Linked DNA regions of Homo sapiens: all the other regions are linked to region 4. The links are contacts of gene promoters, found by promoter capture Hi-C in blood cells and fetal thymus (Javierre and others, 2016). All regions are on one chromosome and are shown on one strand. Each heading gives the region's core, a stretch centred on a gene start or on the middle of the fragment in contact. The rest is flanking DNA. Distances are from core to core; before and after follow the strand shown. Region 1 holds the start of SYP-AS1 (SYP antisense RNA 1). Region 2 holds the start of PRAF2 (PRA1 domain family member 2). Region 3 overlaps UXT (ubiquitously expressed prefoldin like chaperone). Region 4 holds the start of EBP (EBP cholestenol delta-isomerase). Region 5 holds the start of ZNF81 (zinc finger protein 81).

What was found. The method cuts DNA at HindIII sites, captures the fragments that hold promoters and counts their contacts. A CHiCAGO score of 5 or more calls a contact.
Region 1: a contact is called between the fragment with the promoter of SYP-AS1 here and the fragment with the promoter of EBP in region 4, in 4 of 17 cell types (naive CD8 T cells, neutrophils, non-activated CD4 T cells and 1 more). The highest score is 9.6, in naive CD8 T cells.
Region 2: a contact is called between the fragment with the promoter of PRAF2 here and the fragment with the promoter of EBP in region 4, in 2 of 17 cell types (activated CD4 T cells and total CD8 T cells). The highest score is 6.3, in activated CD4 T cells.
Region 3: a fragment that was not itself captured here is called in contact with the fragment with the promoter of EBP in region 4 in 2 of 17 cell types (total B cells and total CD4 T cells); the score reaches 6.3 in total B cells.
Region 5: the fragment with the promoter of ZNF81 here is called in contact with the fragment with the promoter of EBP in region 4 in 2 of 17 cell types (M0 macrophages and M1 macrophages); the score reaches 6.8 in M0 macrophages.

Annotation. Positions count from the first base shown.
Region 1 is chrX:49,197,582-49,200,281 of GRCh38, reverse strand. It overlaps SYP-AS1 (SYP antisense RNA 1), which reads right to left and starts at 1,443. Exons shown (of 2, transcript NR_046649.1): 1 at 1,058-1,443. It overlaps SYP (synaptophysin), which reads left to right and starts at 89. Exons shown (of 7, transcript NM_003179.3): 1 at 89-131; 2 at 1,249-1,314; 3 at 2,443-2,567. The coding sequence starts at 96. RefSeq lists silencers at 1-136, 207-256. The HindIII fragment of the contact is 12,908 bases long and covers 1-2,700 here.
Region 2 is chrX:49,072,552-49,075,251 of GRCh38, reverse strand. PRAF2 (PRA1 domain family member 2) reads left to right here and starts at 1,250. Exons shown (of 3, transcript NM_007213.3): 1 at 1,250-1,443; 2 at 2,602-2,700. The coding sequence starts at 1,265. WDR45 (WD repeat domain 45) reads left to right here. Exons shown (of 11, transcript NM_001029896.2): 10 at 1-116; 11 at 340-810. The coding sequence ends at 449. RefSeq lists a silencer at 968-1,067. The HindIII fragment of the contact is 3,027 bases long and covers 754-2,700 here.
Region 3 is chrX:47,653,646-47,656,345 of GRCh38, reverse strand. All of the region lies in intron 5 of UXT (ubiquitously expressed prefoldin like chaperone), which reads left to right. Among named protein-coding and RNA genes, the nearest start is that of UXT-AS1, 3.8 kb to the left of the region's middle. The HindIII fragment of the contact is 1,824 bases long and covers 501-2,324 here.
Region 4 is chrX:48,520,558-48,523,257 of GRCh38, reverse strand. EBP (EBP cholestenol delta-isomerase) reads right to left here and starts at 1,450. Exons shown (of 5, transcript NM_006579.3): 1 at 1,351-1,450. It overlaps PORCN (porcupine O-acyltransferase), which reads right to left. Exons shown (of 15, transcript NM_203475.3): 15 at 2,450-2,700. RefSeq lists silencers at 1,166-1,345, 1,406-1,635, 2,550-2,609. The HindIII fragment of the contact is 9,622 bases long and covers 636-2,700 here.
Region 5 is chrX:47,835,652-47,838,351 of GRCh38, reverse strand. ZNF81 (zinc finger protein 81) reads right to left here and starts at 1,450. Exons shown (of 5, transcript NM_007137.5): 1 at 1,365-1,450. RefSeq lists an enhancer at 1,323-1,702. The HindIII fragment of the contact is 3,931 bases long and covers 1-2,700 here.

The DNA.
Region 1 (2,700 bases), core at 194-2,693, 680 kb before region 4:
CTGCAGCCGCCTGGGCTGTTCCAACGAGCGCGCGCCGCCCCCGCCGCGCCCCGCGCCGCCCTTGCTAGCCGAGCCTCCCGCCCCCTGCATTGCTGATGCTGCTGCTGGCGGACATGGACGTGGTGAATCAGGTACGCGCTCCAGCACCGTGGACAGAGCCCGCCGCCGCCCGGCTGCCTAGGCCGGGTCGCTCAGGCCAGCCGACTCTGGGAGGTGGTGGCCAGGGTCTGGCAGCGGAGACCCGGTCCCCGGCGCTGGGGATGGGGGTCTGCGGCAGGTGAAGGGGAGGAAGGGGGAGGTGGAGAAAAGGAGTGCGCTCTTTGCCGCAGCGAGGGCCGTCCTCACTGCCGCAGCGGGGGCCCCCGGAGCCCCGTTTATTACTGGCGACCGCGAGGGGAGGAATAGGGGCCTGGGGGCTGGAGTGAGGGCAAGGGACAAGGGGAGGGGAGAGTGGAAGGAAGATGGGGGGTGCTGCGGATAAGCTAGGAAATAGAGCGACAGAAGGTGTGGGGGCGGGGATGGGGGAGAGGGCTGGCACCCGCCCCTCCCAAACAGAGACTGTACCCCCATAGGCGACCACCCCTTCCCCCAGAGCACACCTAGGGGACAATCCGGTTTTACTCCTTCCAAAACCCCCAGCCTCCTCACCCCCAACACATAGCGACTGAAGCCGTGTCCCAGCCCTCCCCCACCTTAATCAGTCCAGACCCTCTCCGCCATGTCTCTCGTCTTTGCCACCTCAGAAACTCACCCCCAATCAGTCCCAACCCTTCCCCATCCCCATCACCTCAAATATCTACCGCCACCGCCGTCTAACACACCTTTACCCCTGCAGACCCTTCCCCCACCTGAGCCAAACCGACTCCTGCCCCGTTATGACTCACCTTCACCATCACAACCCCCCCACCCGAATGCACCCCACTCCATCCCCATTCTCTACCCGAACCCCTTCCCCATCCGACTCGCCTTTACGTTTCAAACCTGCTCCCCCTCCTTAACTAGTCCTGACCTCATCCCCATCTCCCTCACCCCCGACTTCCTCTGCCATCTGACTCACCATCTCTTCAGACCTTCCCACCAGTCCTTGGACCCTGGGGCTCACACCATCCCCAAGGTGTCACTTTCTCCTTCTCACCCTCTCCCCGAGGTCACATGCTCCATCCCCTGGGGTCATTGATGGGCAGCCTTGCCGCTCACCTCCCTGTACCTCCAACAACCCCACCCCTTCCCCACTGTTTCTCTCCTCAGCTGGTGGCTGGGGGTCAGTTCCGGGTGGTCAAGGAGCCCCTCGGCTTTGTGAAGGTGCTGCAATGGGTGAGTGTGGTCCGGGCTGTTGGGGCAGAGTGCAGGGAGAGAGGGAGGTCATGGGGTCCAGAAGAGCAGGGGTGGAGTAGGGGCGAGTAGCCAGGGATGAGTGCGGGGGTTGTAGGGGATGGGGGAATTGGGCTCCAGGGTGAGGTTTCAGGGGTCTGAAGCCAGAAAACAGATGAGCTGTGACGTCACATAGGGCTGAGGGTACCCCCGTTGTGAAGTGGGAGACTGTGACGTCCTACCTCCTCTCTTGAAGTGAGGGAGGGGTGGGGGAGGTGGAGCCTGTAGCAGATGCTGGGTGAGAGATGCAAAGTCAGAGAAACCCAGAGACAGTGAAGGTGACAGAGAGAATGAGGGACAGGGAATGATAAAGACAGAGATGGAAATACTGAGAAAAAAAAAAGAAATATGGAGATGAGAAGAGATACAGACATAAGAGAGAAGAGACAAACAGAAACAAAGAAAAAGGAGACACAGAAAACAGATGCAAAGAGAAACAGACGCAGGGAGAGAGGCAGGAAAACAGGGTGAGGGAGAGAGAGACACAGAGAGAAAGAGACACTCAGAAAAAAGAGAAACCAACACACAGAGGCAAGAGGGAGACAGAGAGAGAACCATCCGGAGACCGAGTGAGAGACAGGACAGAGAGACAGAGACAAACAGACCAAGAAACAGAAAGACACAGACATACAGGCATACACTTACACAGACAGAGAAAAAAGAGACAAAAAGAGACATCGACAGATCAGATAGGCAGAGGCAGAGAGGATCAGAGACACAGAGAGACAAAGAGACATCTGAGAAAGACAAAGACACATAGAGAAACAGAGATACCGAGAGAAACAGAGACACAGTGAGATACACAGAGAACAACAGAGACAAACAGAGAAGAGGGAGGTCAGCATGGAAAGGCAGAGACAGAGAGAGACACAGAGAGAGAAACAGGAAGAGACAGCCATACCCTTGTAATCAGCTTGTCCTTGGTCCCGATGAGCCCTGATTAGGGGGTGGGGGTGGGGACTGCTCCATCTGCTGCTGCCTGTGCTGGGCCCCCGATCTGTCCAGAGGAGGGCACCTCCCTCCCACATGCACACAGGTTCACTGTGGCCATCCCCATCCCTGCTGCCCAAGGTCTTCGCCATCTTCGCCTTTGCCACATGCGGCAGCTACAGTGGGGAGCTCCAGCTGAGCGTGGATTGTGCCAACAAGACCGAGAGTGACCTCAGCATCGAGGTCGAGTTCGAGTACCCCTTCAGGTGTGCTCCCACCCTGGGATACCAACAGACCTGGGAGAGGAAGGGGCAGGGTGGAACCGGCCAATACCTCCCCCCGCAAGTAGCTCCTGCCCAGCTCCCACCTCGAGGCTACATCCACTGGGATCACTGAGCA
Region 2 (2,700 bases), core at 1-2,500, 550 kb before region 4:
GATTGGGCAGTACGTGGACTCTCAGTGGAGCCTGGCGAGCTTCACTGTGCCTGCTGAGTCAGCTTGCATCTGCGCCTTCGGTCGCAATACTTCCAAGAACGTCAACTCTGTCATTGGTGAGTGGGAACAGCCCCTTGGTTGGGGGTACTGCATGGGGCAAAGGCCTGCAGGTTGGACCTGAAAGGATTTTAGGGCCATGTGAGGCTCAGCTTCATCATCAGTAAGGGGGACAGCACTGGGCAAAGGCCTGGAGGCAGACCCTAGGTCCTGAGATGCCTGAGAGGACTGGAGCCTGTGGCTGTGGCAGCCTCTGACCTTTTACCACCCCCCCTCCCCCAGCCATCTGCGTAGATGGGACCTTCCACAAATATGTCTTCACTCCTGATGGAAACTGCAACAGAGAGGCTTTCGACGTGTACCTTGACATCTGTGATGATGATGACTTTTAAGGACCCTGGGGGCTGTGCTAGGGACCTGCAGTGGCAGAACTGCAGAGCTGAGCCTTGGCAGTGGGGCGTGCTTGGAAGCCACCAGCCAGCAAGCATTAATGGGGCTGGTGCCCACTTTCCACTCAGCAGAGCTATGTCTAAATAAAGAGCTCACTTCCCCCCAGCACTTCTTGATGACTGTGTGCCCCAAGGGCCAGGCCAGAGACCCAGGAAGGCAGCGACCCCTTGGGATCCCTAACCTGGAGGAAATTGCCAGGGACCCAGAGGGAGTGCCCTAATCCAACCTGGGGATTTTTTAAAAGCTTCCTAGGAAGAGATGATCTCCGATGTGATGAATACGAATAAAAGGCCCTTAATGGCATTTACGGCTTGACCTCAGGGGCGGGGCATGGAGTTTCCTGGAGAAATGTGACCCTCTTGGGCGCTGACAGGAAGGAGGTGGAATCCAACTCGGATCCTTGTGACAGTCCCTCCTTTCTTATCTGTCTGGCTACTTTGTGCTTGAGCCGCTGGCACCGCCCGGAGCAGCCCCTGCGGCGCCCCGCGCGGGGGTGGATGGCAGTTTTAAGGGTTGGGAGCATCTCGCTTCGTGGCAAAGGCTTGATTTCCCGGCAGCCTTTGCTGCTTTCCTGAGCGGCGTGTTAGTTGCTTTTCCGGTCACGTGCATCGCCGCCCCTGCGCAATCCACCTAGGAGGTTAGGAAAAAGCTGCCCAGCCCAGACTCCATTTCCCGGTGTGCCCCGCGGTGGCGAGGGGCGTAACGGTTGTTGTAGTCCGGCCCCCTCCTGGCTGGTCCAGCCACATTAACCGGCAGGATGTCGGAGGTGCGGCTGCCACCGCTACGCGCCCTGGACGACTTTGTTCTGGGGTCGGCGCGTCTGGCGGCTCCGGATCCATGCGACCCGCAGCGATGGTGCCACCGCGTCATCAACAACCTCCTCTACTACCAAACCAACTACCTTCTCTGCTTCGGCATCGGCCTCGCTCTCGCCGGGTGAGGGAGGGAGGCGCCGGTTGGCCAGGGACGTCTGCAGAGCGTGGGGGTAGACCCACAGGTCTTTGAGGACCAGGACGGGGAACCTGAGGGGGGTGCAAGGCCGGGAAGGGCGAAGTCAGTAGAGATGGACGGCCTGAGGGGCTTGGAAGGGGGGCCTTGAAGGAGGTGGAGCCTAGTTATAAGGAGGGCCTCAGGGAGATGGAGCCTGGCTGATGAGGAGGGCCTGCGGGGGATGGGGGTCTGCAAGGAAGATATGGGGAGGATGGAGACAAGTGTGGGACTGAAGGGGAAAGTGGGCTGGAAGGTGAACCGGAAAAAAAGGAGGGCCCGAAAGGGGGACATGAGAGTACTTGAGGGGCGTAGGGGGGGTGTGATGTGAATGATGGGGCCAGATTGAGGCCGACCCTGGAGTACTTAGGGCAGAGACCGGGAAATAGACGGTAAAGTTGGAGGGTTTGGAAGATGTATTTATTGGGGATCCGGTCTTGGAGGGGAGCCTGGCTATGATTGGAAGGCGCCAGGGGCAGGTACCTGTTGGGGAACTTGGGCCCAGGAGGAGGATCCATGGTTGGAAAGCCTGAGACCAGAGAGGGATGGAGAATCTGGAGGAAGGACTTGAGCAGTGCTGAAAGTTCAGAGTGGGGCTGACGACCTGGAAGAGGTCCTAGCAATGATGGAGGGAGGAATCTATAGGGAAATGGGAGCCTGGAGGGCGGTTCTATAAGGACCCTAGGCCTGGGGAGAGGGGAACGTGTGAAGACAGAAGGCCTGAAAGAGGGATTTGCAGGGGCTGGTGTTAAAGGGGGAGCTTGCGGGCAGGCTGATGAGGGGCCCTACGGGGGCAGAGTCGGAAGGAAAGTCCAGGGAAGTGTTGGGAGCCCGGGGGTGTGGGGAGTGTCTAGCAGGATGGGAGGGCCTGAAGCGGGGACCTGAGGAAGACAGGACAGTGGAATTGACAAGGAGGAAAGGAGGGGTCTACAAGGGTGAGTCGGGAGCCCTGGCAGATGGGCCTGCTGGAGATAGGGCTGGTGGGAGGATGTGCCAGGCTGGAGTGTCCGGAGACGGGAGACCCTGGCTCTTGGGGCCCAGGGTGGGTGGTGGTCCGGAGGCCGTCTCTCCGCCCGGCCGGCTAGCTTGGTTCCCTTGTACCCGCAGGTACGTGCGGCCACTTCATACGCTCCTGAGCGCGCTGGTAGTGGCGGTGGCCCTCGGCGTGCTGGTGTGGGCAGCTGAGACCCGCGCAGCTGTGCGCCG
Region 3 (2,700 bases), core at 163-2,662, 870 kb after region 4:
TTTTAAGAGATGGTGTCTCGCTGTGTTGCCCAGGCTGGAATGCAGTGACTGTTTACAGCTGCGATCATAGCATACTACATCCTCAAACTCCTGGGCTCAAGCAATCCCCTTGCTTCAGCCTGCCAAGTAACTGGGACTACAGGCGCACTGCTGTACCCGGCTTTGTGTTTGTTGAAATAATTTGAAAGGGTATGCTGGAAGCATATTAAAGTGGTTATTGAAGCAGATCTGTGTTGGGGGTGATGGGGAGAGAAAATGTGGGCTCCAGTTGAGTTTAAGGCAGGAGTGTCCAATCTTTTGGTTTCCGTGGGCCACATTGGGAGATTTGTCTTGGGCCATACATAAAATACACTAATGCTAATGATAGCTGATGAGCTAAAATAAAAAAGTTGCAAAAAAAAATCACATAATGTTTTAAGAAAGTTTATGAATTTGTGTTGGGCTGCATTCAAAGCCGTCCTGGACCGCATGTGGCCCACTGGTTGCAGGTTGGACAAGCTTGATTTACGGTTTTGTGCAGGGAAGGGCAGTTGGGAGCATAGATGAGGGATTTGAAATGTAGCTAGGGAAGGCCTCCCAGAGGAAGGGACATTTGAATCATTTGACTGAGTGACAAAGCCATGGGGCTATCTGGCGAAGAGCATTCCTGGCAAGAGGAATAGTGTGCCTGGTATGCTAGTGAAACTACCAAGAGAGGTGAGCTTGGTTTCAATGGAATGAGCATGGGGGCACTGAGCAATACACTTAGATTAACAACATCTCACAAGTGTGAGTACCATTGATTTAAACTTCTTTGTTGGTTGTGTTTTGTGTTTATGTCTGTTCTACATTCATTTTTTCCAGAGTTGCCTCCCTTAGAGTTTCAGTAATTTTTATCTTTTCAAACCTTTCCAGCCATGGGAAGGACTAGCAGGTGCTAGTGGACCCAAAAGAACCTCAGACCTGCTGAGATTTCTGATTCTTGGTGTTCAGACCAATTAGCAAATAGTTTAATTAAACGGCCTGCTTTCATGGTCAACACAATTCTGAACTGGTGGTCATTTAGACCAAGTCCACTTTGTTTTTGAGACGGAATTTTGCTCTTGTCGCCCAGGCTGGAGTGCAGTGGTGCGATCTTGGCTCACTGCAACCTCTGCCTCCTGGGCTTAAGGGATTCTCCTGCCTCAGCCTCCCAAGTAGCTGGGACTACAGGCACCCACCACCACTCCCGACTAATTTTTGTATTTTTAGTAGAGACAGGGTTTTGCCATGTTGGCCAGGCTGGTCTCAAACTCCGACCTCAGATGATCTGCCCACCTCAGCCTCCCTAAGTGCTGGGATTGCAGGTGTGAGCTACCGCGCCCAGCTAAAGTCTAGTTTGTATAAGAAGGCTTTCCTTGTTATGTCACAGGATTCCTGAGCCTATCAAATAGATTTTAATGTTTTGAGACTCCACGTACTTCCCCAAAATGAAGTATTTAAATTGTCAGTGCCTGCCCCCTTGCCTGGTCTTTTTGATGTACTGACCTGGTCTGTTAGTGTGATGAAAAATATGGTTGAGTCTTACTGCTTTATTGTAATTAGTAGGACTGTCTAGAAGTTTAATTTTTCTAAGAGATGAAGATTTGAGTCTATGTAGCTGGCTGTCCTTTAAAAATATTTGGTTACTTGGGATATACTTTGAACTAACTTTCTGGTCATTTTATGTGATCAAAAGTGTCAGTTCTTCCTGTTCTTAGTATATTTCTTTGTTTGGGAAGTGGAAGGGATGAAATCTCTATATTCTTTCCTGATGACACAGAAAGGAGTACACATCCACATCTCATGAATAGACATGTAATTATAGAAGAAACAGCCTAACGGCCGGGCGCGGTGGCTCACACCTGTAATCCCAGCACTTTGGGAGGCCGAGGTGGGTGGATCACGAGGTCAGGAGTTCAAGACCAGCCTGTCCAAGATAGTGAAACCCCGTCTCTACTAAAAATACAAAAAATTAGCCGGGAACGGTGGCAGGCGCCTGTAATCCCAGCTACTTAGGAGGCTGAGGCAGGAGAATCGCTTGAACTCGGAGGGTGGAGGTTGCAGTGAGCCGAGATCACGCCACTGCACTCCAGCCTGGGCGACACAGTGAGACTCCATCTCAAAAAAAAAAAAAAAAGCATAACCATATGACTATTCACACTGCCTTACATACTAAATCAGTAGTAATTTGCTTCTCACATAGCAAATAAAAATAAATCAGCAGTAATAAACATATCCCTTTTGTGTTACAGCTAGCATTTGGTGAACTCTGTATTTTTCTCCCTTTTAAAGTGTTGAACTCATAGGTTTTCATAAGGTAAGCTTACACCATTAACTAATTTTGTTCTCTTTTTTGATGTTAAAATTGTCCCTTAGGAGCTGATCAGGTTCATTCTTCTGTTCTTTAAGCATTACCCCCAGAATATTCTTGAAAGTATTCTTGCTCTCTGGCAACAACACCCATACTTCATTTATTTCCTGTCCCTAAACATACACTCAGCCAACCTCAGGTTCCTTTTAATGGAGTAGTCACTTATTCATTCAACATACGTTGGGTGCCTCCTCTGTGCCACACACTGTTCTGGTCCCTGGGGATAGAGCAGGAAACAAAAAAAAACAAAATCTGCCCTCATACAGCTGACATTCTAGTCAGGGGAGACAAACAATAAACAAATGAATGATGTAGTATGTCAGATGTTG
Region 4 (2,700 bases), core at 201-2,700:
GACCATGACTAAAGGCCAGGCACCGTGGCAGGTAATTCCAGTGCTTTGGGAGGCTGATGCAGGAGCAGCACCTGAGGCCAGGAATTCAAGTCCGGCCTGGGCAACACAGCGAAACTGTCTCTAAAAAAATAAGAAAATCAGTCAGGTGTGGTGACAAAGGCCTGTAGTCCCAGCTAGTAGGTAGGCTGAGGCAGGAGGATCGCTTTGAGCCCAGGACTTCAAGGCTGAAGTGAGCAGTGACCACATCACTGCCCTCCAGTCTGAGACTCTGCCTCTAAAAAAGAAGGCCGGGCGCGGTGGCTCACGCCTGTAATCCCAGCACTTTGGGAGGCCAAGACGAGTGGACCACTTGAGCTCAGGAGTTCAAGACCAGCCCGGCCAACATGGCAAAACCCCGTCTCTACTAAAAATACAAAAATTAGCCAGGTGTGGTGGCGTGCGCCTGTAGTTACAGCTACTCAGGAGGCTGAGGCAGGAGAATCGCTTGAACCTGGGAGGCAGAGGCTGCAGTGAGCCGGGGTCATGCCACTGCACTCCAGCCTGGGCAACAGAGCGAGACTCTGTCTCAAAATAAAATAAAAAAGAAAAGAAAAAGAACATGACTGAAACACAAGGCCACAGAAAGGCTGAAAGCTTGTTCCAGCCCTTTAGAAGCCATATTATGATGTGGTAGAAACAGTCCCGGTCTCAGCCCTCGGGGGTCAAAGTCTGGTGGGAGGCACATGGGAACAACACCTGATCCCAGCCCTCCCTGGTCACAGTCTGGCGAGGGAGATACAGGACCAGGCCTGGTGTCTTCCTTCAAGGGTCACAAACTGCTCACGACCACCAAACCCAGTCCTGTGCTCCGGGGTCACGGTTTGGTAAGAGACACAGGAACCAGGCGTGGTCCAGTTGCACAGGTCAGCGTCTTAAACCGTTCAACAAAAAGCTATTCCCTCCCCCACGTAGTCCTGAAAACTGCAACTGGGGGACAGAGGAAAGAAAACGAATCAGAACTACAACCCTCGGTGCCAGCGTTTGGAAAGCCAGAGCCTCCCCGCGAGAGCGTGCAACGCCGTCAACCTGCAGGGAAGAGACGGATATTGAAAGGCCGGTGTCTGGCGTGCAGCGCTAGAACGGAACACAAAGCCGGTCAATCCGAACCAGAACCCTCCAGTCCCGCTGCCCAATGAGAAGACGGATCTTCTGTCCTCTGGACAACCGTGCGGTAGCTGGGGGTCTCGCGCAGGCGCAAAAGGGCGGTGGGGGGGGCGGGTGGCAAAGGGTCTCGCGCTGGCACGCCGAGGGCTGGCCGCGTAGCCGGGGAGAGCTGGGGGAGGGAGCAGGGGCCGGGTGGAGGGCACTCACCAAGGCGCGCGACGGCAGCGGCCTCCCACGCTGGCTCCGGGCTCTCTTTAGGCTGGGTCTCGCGCTCTGTCACATCCCTAGTTCGGGCTCATCCCCTAGTGGGTTCTCTTGCCTTACGGAGCGAGCCAATGGTGAAGCGAAGAAGGCGGCCCGTGCCGCTCCCAACCAATAGACACTCTCTTTGTACCTCTAGCCCCGCCCCCGCGCGTGGCGCCATTTTCACCTGAGTTAGGTTTGGGGTGGAGACTGGGACGCGCCAAGGTTAGTGGGCGTTTTGGATCCGTAGCCAATCTGCATCGAGTCCTGGCTTCAATTTCCCCATTCCCTTATCAGTCGATCAAAACGGGGACTCATTAAGGTCTGTACCCGCTTCTTCCGCTGGTGAAATTAGCGTTGCGTTGCATCCTTTCACCTCCGCCCTTTTCTAGGTAGAGTAACCCTTAGTATAATGCAACGAAACTGTTACAAGCAGATCACACGCTATACACTGCAACCACCCCCTCCCCAGCTCTTCAGTGCTCAGAACTCCTCAGTCCTAATAGCAGCGGTCATTCTCTCTTCTCCCGACCTCAAGTCAGAAGAACTAGTTAGAACCCAGGCCTCTCAGTCCTACTGACCAATTGGCATGAAGACCCTCAATCTCCATATGCCAGTTCTAAAAAGCCAATCAAACGCCTAACCACCAGTGGGCCCCCAGATGGAGCAATCAATCAGAATCCAGACCCATCCCAGACCTCCCATCCAATTAGAACCCACAACCCTCAGTCCTAAGGATAAATAGGCACCAACCCTTCATCTCTCTTGCTTTCTCTCCTCTGTGTCCCACTCAGAGCAACCAATCAGAATGGGGATCCTTCAGTTTTCCAGCCAATCAGGCCTCCCCCACATCCAACTATGCAATCTGTCCCTGCCCTGATCAAACCAAGCAGGACCAGGATCCTGCCATCTTCAGGCTCATCATCTAATCAATCATAAACTAACCATGAACCAATCACAGTCTGCTCTCTCTTCATGGTTTCCAGCTTCCAAACCTTTATCCATGCTGTGCTCCCTTCCTCACTCATTCCTATTCCCCTCTGAGCAGTGAAGAAGAAGCCTATTGAATATTTCCTACTTTTATTTGACAATAACAAATTGTATATAAAAAGGAAGAAGGAAGGCGGGGAGGCCCTGGATCTCCCCTTCTCTGTTTCCCCAAGCATCCCCCTCTAGGCCCCAGCAGGCACCACCCCCTTCCTGCCTTGTGGTGGGGTGGGGATTGACAGGCATGAAAATGGTGTGATTTTGTGTGTGTGTGTGTGTGTGTGTGTTGAGGTGTTGGGGGTCAAGGATGGAGGGGGTCAAGGAGTA
Region 5 (2,700 bases), core at 201-2,700, 680 kb after region 4:
TCAACATAGTACTGGAACTTCTTGCCAGTGTAATAAGGGAAGAAAAGCAGAGGTATAAAGATTGGAAAGAAAGAAATAAAACTATCCCTGTTTGTATATGACATGATTGCTCATGCAGAAAATCCAAGGAATCTGCCAAAAAAGGTGTAAAACCTAATAATTGAGCTCAGCAAGATTGCAGGATACAAGACCAACAGACAAAACTCAATTGTATTCCTATATATAAGCAACAATTTAAAAGATAACACCATTTATGACCACTCCAAAACAATTAAATACTTAGGTATAAATTGAATAAGACATGTACAGAACTTGGGTGATGAAAATTAAAATACACCATTTATAGAAATTTTAAAAGATCTAAATAAATAGAGAGACATACTATGTATATGGATTGGAAGACTTGGCACAGTTAAGACTTAACTTCTTCCCGAGTTGGTATACAGGTTTAATGCAATTCCTATCAAAATCCAAGCAAGATGCTTTGTAGATAGAGACAAGATTTTCTAAAATGCATATAGGAAAGGCAAGGGAACCAGAGGCATTAAAACAATTTTGAAAAAGAATAAAGTGAGAGGAATCACTCTATCCAATTCAAGACAGCAAGGTAGTACTGGCAGAGGGATAGACACATAGACAATGAACTGAATAGCAAACCCAGAAAGAGCCCACACACAAGTATGGCCAACTTATTTTTGACAATGGTGAAAGACAAGTCAATGGAGGAAAGATAGTCTTTTCAACAAATGGTGCTTCAGTCTGGACATCCATAAGCAAATTAATGCACCTCGACCTAAGTCTCATACTTTATACAAAAAGTAACTCACAGAGGATCACAGACAGCAGTAAGGAGACACAGACAAATCACCATCACAGTGGAGAATTTCTCTCTCCTCGAAGTAATAGAAGAAGCAGACAAAAAAGGATAGATTTTCTATGACACAATTGACGACTAAATAATTAAATATTATTTTCAAGTTATATATAGAACGTTTCTAAAAATTCACCACGGACTAGGCCATAAGTCTCCTTATATTTCAAGGAATGAGCTTCACGTAGATATTTTTCTAACACAGAAAACTAAGGTTAGAGATCCATTACAGAGATAAACTTTTGCACACTGAAACCCCACTTTTGAATAACTCCCGGGTAAAAGACAAATGAATACAAGTTAACACTCTTAAAAAACATAATGCTCCAAACCCAATGGGGCTTAGAATGAACTTTAAGACCTTAACGGTGATGTTAGAAAAGAGAAAAGCCTGCAAAATGATGAGTGAATCATCCAACTCAAGTTAGATAAACGATTCCATCACTGGCCACACAGAATCGCCCAGCACTCACCCTCCCCGGCCCCCCATCACCTCCACATCCCTGGGCACTGAACGTCGAATCCTCCTGACAACTATCAAACCCCGGCTGAGAACCGGCGAGAACCGCAGCCGCTTCCGGTCACTACCCCTAGCACCGCCCTTTTTCGGGGTTTGGGACTTCACATGAATGAGGGAAGCGGAGGTTCCGCGCGTGCGCAAAACCACCTTTGAAGCTGCTGTTAGCCAGGAGTCAACATGGAGAAGTTACGGAAGTGGGTGCTTTGGGACGTTCGGTACCCCTCGGCGGCGTGGTCAGGTGGGGAACATGGCCGCGCCCACGTCGCGCTTCCCCATGGGATACACCATGTTGGAGGAGTGTCCATCCGTATTGAGGATGAGGACACCTCTGAACTCACAGAGCAGGCTGTGAGTTTAGAGCTGTCTGCTCTAAACTCAGGTGGAGCTGTCCCGCTGGTGGCAGGGAGCACGGGTGGGGACGTTTCTCTGGGCGGGCTAACTGGAGGAGGGGGTCTTTGGACCTGTAGTCTATGGATCTGTGTGATACCGCTCCGAGAAACTGAAGGGCCTCTTGGAAAGAATCAGGGGCGGCCGCGGCTATCTCCTGGCAGATACCACAGGATGAGAAGCGGGGAGATGTCAGGCTGGTTACAGGCTTCTCCTAGGACATACCACAAGGGGAGGAGGAGGAGGAGAAATCATGGTTATGCAAGCCCTCCTAGGATATGCCATGAGGTGGGAAAAAGGGAGAACTCAGAGTGCTGGGTTCCCCTCCTGCTGTGCCTGTGGGGCTTGGATGCGAGGTTTGAATGCTGCAGCAATTTACCTTATCTCCCACTCCATCTACCCCAGCTAAAAAGGGACTACGTAGTACCAATACTAATAATTTTTAATGTGTCCTTAGTCCAATGCAATATGTCAATAAAAATCTTTAGGAAACTTTATTATTTTTATTTCCTCATGAAGTAAAATATATGTGGTCATGGTGCCCTTACTTTGGAAATGTAGCTTTAATACAAGGCTCTGCTTCTACCCTTCAACCAGTTTGCTGCTCCATATCACCTCCAATGTGTAAATTCTGGAGATGCCCCTGCCCTCTGGGAGATGTCACTGGAGCAGAAGGGGAAGAAGTCGTGCAGTCCTTCACCTAAGAATGCCTATTCATCCTTCAAAATCAAGTTCAAATATCTCCTCCTCCAGAGAATCCTGACAGAGCTAGAAGCCTGTGTGCCCTCCTGAAAGCCTTTCTGAATCCTCAGGTGAAAAAAATATTTTGAGAGGACCTGGTGTAGGCTGAAGTGTGGACTTGCTGGGGGCTCTCAATCCAGTCTTATCCCCTCTGGCCCTCGGTTTAACAATCTCGAAGGTT